Linked DNA regions of Homo sapiens: region 1 is linked to region 2. Evidence: promoter capture Hi-C in human tissues and cell types (Jung and others, 2019). All regions are on one chromosome and are shown on one strand. The core of a region is centred on a gene start or on the middle of the fragment in contact, and the rest is flanking DNA. Distances in the headings are between cores, read along the strand shown. Region 1 holds the start of EARS2 (glutamyl-tRNA synthetase 2, mitochondrial). Region 2 holds the start of UQCRC2 (ubiquinol-cytochrome c reductase core protein 2).

Region 1 (3,131 bases), core at 524-3,023, 1.6 Mb after region 2:
GCTTTGGCATTCTACATAAGTGCTCTTCAAAGCAAAGTGTGCAATCCAGTGCTGGTCTGAAAACAGTTGTCAGTTCACAATCAAGTACAGAAACTGAGAGTAAAGGTTTAGAAACTTTTGTTGTTGTTTTGAGATGGAGTCTCACTCTGTCACCCGGGCTGCAGTGCGGTGGCACGATCTCGGCTCACTGCAACCTCTTTCTCCTGGGTTCAAACGATTTTCAGCCTCCTGAGTAGCTGGGATTACAGGCCTGGGCCACATGCCCGGCTAATTTTTGTATTTTAGTAGAGACAAGGTTTTGCCATATTGGCCAGGCGAAACTTACATAGCAATCTGGCAGAATGATTTTACCTCTGCTAACCCAAATAAAATGAGATTGGTTTGTATTTTGGATGTTTTCAAAATTTTATTTTTCTGGTCATTATATTAATTTTGTGCAAATATTGATACACAATTGATTGGAAATTTAAAACCAGCACTTCCACAACAGATGGTTTGAAAGGCACTGCTCTAGGCTATACTGCCTGCCAGAAAGATCCTGTCATGTATAGCTGGGATTTTACTACAAAGATCTTTGTATGTTCATCCTGGGATTTGGGATGAGAGGCATACTCCGTGTAGAGAACGTAGAAGGTAGCCTTACTGGTGGGAACCAAAAGGCCCTGACGAGATCTCCAACAGGCTATACAATGGGCCTCTGTCACCCTCTAGCTTGCTAAGCTCCCAACAGCACTAGCACAGTGCCTTGGTACCTGCGATTTCCTCTACCCAGAAGGTTCCTTCTTTTTTGTTTTTGAGACACAGTTTCGCTCTTGTTGCCCAGGCTGGAGTGCAATGGCGCGATCTTGGCTCACCGCAATCTCCACCTCCTGCGTTCAAGCGATTCTCCTGCCTCAGCCTCCCAAGTAGCTGGGATTACAGGCATGCGCCACCATGCCCAGATAATTTTGTATTTTTAGTAGAGACAGGGCTTCACCATGTTGGTCAGACGGCTCTCAAGTGATCCACTTGACCTCAAGTGATGCACCCACCTCTGCCTCCCAAAGTGCTGGGATTACAAGCGTGAGCCACCGCGCCTGGCCTCCAGAAGGTTCCTTCTATAGGCTTCACATAGCGTGCTCCTTCTTGTCATTTGGATCTCAGCTCAAATGTTACCTGCTCAGTAAAGCCTTCTGGAGCGTCCTTCTTAATCCCCAGTCTCCTATCCTGTTTCACTTCCCGCATGGCACATGTGACTCTAAAATTACACTTATTTTTTATAAGTGTCTGCGGCAGCCACTAGAATGCAGACTTCCACAGAGCAAGGCCCCTACCTTTCTCAATGATCACTGTATCCCAGCGTCTACAACACCTGTTACACAGGTTGTCATCAATGCACATGTATGGAATGCATGAAAAAAAGATCGAAAGAGATGGGATGGCACAAAAAACACAAGAAACTCCTGGCAATTTGAATTATTTCCGCTCCTGCACCTCAGTTTCCGCCTCTGTAAAATGGGCTCGCGCTGCCTTAACCCTCCTCCGCCCGCCCACTCTGACACCACCGGAAAGGATTCATTCGGGAACATTCGTGGGGCGGAGACGGGACAGGGGGCCTCGGCCTGTAGCGTCACGTCCGCCAGGGTTACCTGTGGGGCTGGGAGCGAACCGCACTCGCACCGCAACCCCGGCATCAGTGCCCAGGTTGGCCTCGCGCCGTCCTACGGGGCGGCCAGAGGCCGCCGAAGGCCTCTCGCGCTGCAGCAGTCTCCTCAGGAGCGCCGCCATGTGGGATGGAATAGCACACGTGGGCTTCTCCCTGCGTCACTTCCGGGGACTGCTTCCAGCCAATCGGCCTCCGCCACAGCCAGCGCAGCCTTGCCCCTTAAAGTCACAGGCCCCCTAGCGCGAAATCCCACGCCCCCCTGGACGGCTGCGGCCGCACTCGCCACCAGGGGGCAGAGGCCAGAGAAAGGGCTATTTCCCGGACCCGCCCCCTTCAGCTTGGGAAAGCGAAAGCGTGGCAGGGGCCGGACCTGGGAGCGGAGGAGGCGGGTCTCCATAGAAACCTCCACCTGTTTCCGGCCGGGCTGTGAGAGATTAGGGGCTGCTGCGGGGGCCAATCTCAGCCAGCTCGCCTCTTCCCAGCGGCCTCTGCGGGAGCGGTGGGTGTTGTACACAATCATCATGGCGGCGGCCGGGGCCCCGGATGGTGAGTGCGGCGGGGGTGGCGGGCGCCGGGCCGGGGCTGAGGTTGCGGTCGCTCCTCTGGGGGATGCGGCCCGGCCCGGGAGGGAGAACCGCGGCTCGGGAACGGAGGTCCGGCGGCGCCCGGACAGCGTCCGTTCCCAAGCCCAGCCCGCGGCGAGCGCCCACCCCCTAACCCCCTTGCAGGCATGGAGGAACCTGGCATGGACACGGAGGCCGAGACTGTGGCTACTGAGGCTCCCGCGCGGCCCGTCAACTGCCTGGAGGCTGAAGCCGCGGCGGGGGCGGCGGCCGAGGACTCCGGCGCCGCACGAGGCAGCCTGCAGCCGGCCCCGGCCCAGCCCCCTGGGGACCCCGCAGCCCAGGCCTCGGTCAGCAACGGCGAAGACGCGGGCGGCGGCGCGGGCAGGGAGCTGGTGGACTTGAAGATCATCTGGAATAAGACCAAGCATGACGTGAAGTTCCCCCTGGACAGCACAGGCTCCGAGCTGAAACAGAAGATCCACTCGATTACAGGTAATTCCTGTGGCGCTGACAGCCAGTCTTCCCCACCCCGCCTCCTGATGGCCCTTGCACCCTACTAGGCACCTGGTGGCTTTCCTTGCATCAGGTCCCCCCATCCTTACAGCAGTCTTCTGAAGGATACTTGGATGCCCATTACTCAGCTGGGGAAAGAGACTCAAGTTTATAGAGCTAGTAAGTTGCAGAGCTGGGATTAAAGCCGAAGTCTGACGTTTAGGCCCCAGTTTCTCATTGATGTTGCTCTAACATCTCTAATTAAAAAATCACCTAAGGCGCTTGTTTTACAGCTTCTGGGCCCTTTCCCAGGAGATTCTGATTCAGTGGGTCTGGGATGTAGCCAGGAATTTATTTTTAGCAAATATCTTAGGTAATTCTTCTAAGTGAAGTTTAGGAAACGCTGCTATTGACTTTGATGCTGGTTC
Region 2 (2,889 bases), core at 171-2,670:
GGGTACCATGTACATTATTCGGGTGATGGGTACACTAAAAGCCCAGACTTCACCATTACTGCAATATATCCATATAACATAACTGTACTTGCGCCCCTTAAATTTATACAAATTTTTAAAAGGAAAAAATGGAAGTGTTCATCTATGTACCAACTTAAAATCATCTCACGCACCACTAGTGTTAAATCTACCACATGTGGGGAAACTGTGTGGTATGAATTGGGTTGAGGGCGTCCCCAGCAGGCACAGAAATTGGGTTGGTGCCAGGTTCTTAATGCCCAGATCTTAATTAGAGAGCCCAAGTCCGTTGTAGGCCTGGAGCAATTCAGACACAAGGCAAAAAGAAAGTACATTTGCCTATGCCTTGTAACGTCTACACCACCAGCCTTTCTGAAACTATTGTGCATACGAAGTCATCCCAGGATCTTGTAAAAACACCGATTCGGATCCAATATGGGACCTGGAGTTCATACATTTCTAATCAACTCCTAAATGATATTGATGCTGATACTGTCGGTTTCCCAACCAAGCAACGTAGCAAGGTACGAAACTCTAAAGTCCCTAAAGGGCAGGGACCACGCCTCTCGCGTTGGCATAGTGCCTAGCTCAAGGCACTTTCTGGGTTAACACTCGCTGAGGACCGGAGTGAACGCCCCCGCCCCAAGTCGTCACGTGACTGACTTTCTCCAACTGCCGGTTTCGGCTCACATAACACACCTACTATCCAAAACATTTCTATTTTCCTAACACAAAAACTATAGCTAAGTTTTTATATTCTATGTAGCCCCAGCCTAGGACGTAAATTCCACGAGACCAAAAGCCTTGTGATGATTCCCCGAGGTTGCTGACCCTCCCGGTGTGTCCCGGGCCTGCTCTGGGGGACACAGCGGCGAATACGTTGAACGAGGCCCCTGTTTCACGGAGCTAAAGATCCAGTAAGGACTTCACCCAGCGAGAGGCAACTACGCCGGGCTTCGATACCCAATACCTCTGCAGAAAGGTGGAGTGGCAGGAATCTCCTGAAGCCTCCAACGTCCAGGAACGCGGAAACCCAGGGCCTCCAGTGCAGGTGTCATCCCGGAGGGCGCATGCGGAGTCCCAAGAGAGGCGCGTCCCATTGGACAATGCTGAGCGGAAGAGCCCAAGATAGCGGGGGGAGTTGTGACAGGCTGCTGCAGACGTACTTAGAAAAGGGGTGCATACTGGATATTCAGGCTAGGAGAAGAACGCAAAAAGCAGTGACGTACATTATTCTCTGCATATATTTACTTGGGAAATTGTGCGTCTCCCTATTCTGAGTCTTGGAGGAATTGGACTGGTCCAACCTTATAAAGAGAGCAGTAGAGCGCGGCAGTATAGAGAGTACCTCACGAAGGGGACGTGGGAAAGTGTTAGCGGGGAACGCTGGGAAACTCCCGGCCTCCGCCACCATCTTGCTTTCCTTTAATCCGGCAGTGACCGTGTGTCAGAACAATCTTGAATCATGAAGCTACTAACCAGAGCCGGCTCTTTCTCGGTGAGCTCAGGTGGCGGGTTTGGGAAAGGGCTGGGGAGCAGTGTGTCGACAAGGTGATACGAGGCGGAGGTGTCTGGTCTGGGGTCTGGGCCTTGGGATTCGGTCTGCCCTTCAGCTGAACCCTGCGGGCCAAGTGGGCTGCAGACTGGGTCAGGCTTTGGAGGCCCAGCTCATGCTGTGAGCACAAGAGACCTAACACCGGGAAACCTGAAGAGAGGGGCAGGACGTGAGAGCGGAGTTGAAGCGAGTCCTTGGAGAGACTTCTGAAGGTCACTCCGGTACTCAAGTGCTGGAGAAAGAGACCGTGAAACCCAGGGGGAGCGGGAGGACGGCGCACTTAGCCCCCCACCTTCACTTTATCCGCTGCAGCCTCTGCTCCTTGGTTTATCACGGAGCGTCAGTTTCCCCAGCGAATAAAAGTATAAGAAAGGAGCTAATGCAGATAGAACACTTATTACAGTACCTGGAACTTCATTGTTAAATACTATGGTGTCTTAGTAGTCTAACGTTGCTTTTCTTGATCGTATGTTAGACGGTTCCTCCAAGACGTCTCTGTTTGTCCTCAAAAGCTCCTTAATTAAGTTTCCCCTTCAAGCCTAAATTAAACATAGCTGTCACTTGGGGAAAACTCACACATCAGGGTTATATCACTGTGGGACAGTGGTTATTAAGAGGGGTAAGGGGGAACACTTAAAAAATCATAGCGAGGGACAGAATGCCCCCAGGGAACCGGTGGCGATGTTTGGAGACATATTTAGTTGCAACAACTTGTAAGGAGGGTGCTATTGGCATGGAGAGGCCAGGGATGCTGCTAAACTTCGCCTTACAGCAAAGAATTATCTAGCCCCAAGTGCCAGTAGTAGTACCTGTGTTGAGAAACCCCCCTAGATGGAGATGCAGAAGACCAGACCTGGGCATGGAATGTTCTTATGCTTTATGTTTACATAAATGTGCTGTGGGCTATATCGATTTAGGCTGTAATTGCATTAACCTTCCAGGTATACCTAGACACACCAGTGATTACCCTTGGAGGGAAGCACGGTTAGATTGGCAAAAGACCCCAACATTTCCTTCTCCATTCTATTTTGCAACAGAAAAAGCTCAGAGAAAACAGTTGGAGAGGCCCAAAGTAAACAAATTGCAGTAAACTTGAAAGCAATTATTTATGTGTCTAATTTTAGCACTTTATATAGGAGAATAAACTTAGATATATCTTGTTATTAGAACAAAATAATTTAGAAGATTGCATGACAGTTACTAGGATAATTTGCTGATTTGAATGGGACGATTAAGAAGCACATTACCGGCGGAGCGCGATGGCTCACACCTGTAATCCTAGCACTTTGGGAGTCAGAGGCAGGCGGATCACTTGA

Evidence for each region. The method cuts DNA at HindIII sites, captures the fragments that hold promoters and counts their contacts. A contact is called where the count stands out against the background at its distance.
Region 1: the fragment with the promoter of EARS2 here is called in contact with the fragment with the promoter of UQCRC2 in region 2 in 1 of the 25 tissues and cell types used here (spleen).

Annotation. Positions count from the first base shown.
Region 1 is chr16:23,555,577-23,558,707 of GRCh38, forward strand. EARS2 (glutamyl-tRNA synthetase 2, mitochondrial) reads right to left here and starts at 1,774. Exons shown (of 9, transcript NM_001083614.2): 1 at 1,629-1,774. The coding sequence starts at 1,767. UBFD1 (ubiquitin family domain containing 1) reads left to right here and starts at 2,151. Exons shown (of 7, transcript NM_019116.3): 1 at 2,151-2,191; 2 at 2,374-2,703. The coding sequence starts at 2,167. RefSeq lists enhancers at 459-1,103, 1,464-1,743, 1,748-2,392, 1,934-2,133, 2,393-3,036 and silencers at 2,204-2,293, 2,394-2,573. The HindIII fragment of the contact is 16,025 bases long and covers 1-3,131 here.
Region 2 is chr16:21,951,941-21,954,829 of GRCh38, forward strand. It overlaps UQCRC2 (ubiquinol-cytochrome c reductase core protein 2), which reads left to right and starts at 1,421. Exons shown (of 14, transcript NM_003366.4): 1 at 1,421-1,516. The coding sequence starts at 1,484. RefSeq lists enhancers at 754-1,213, 1,302-2,019, 1,534-1,703, 1,714-1,763. The HindIII fragment of the contact is 13,220 bases long and covers 1-2,889 here.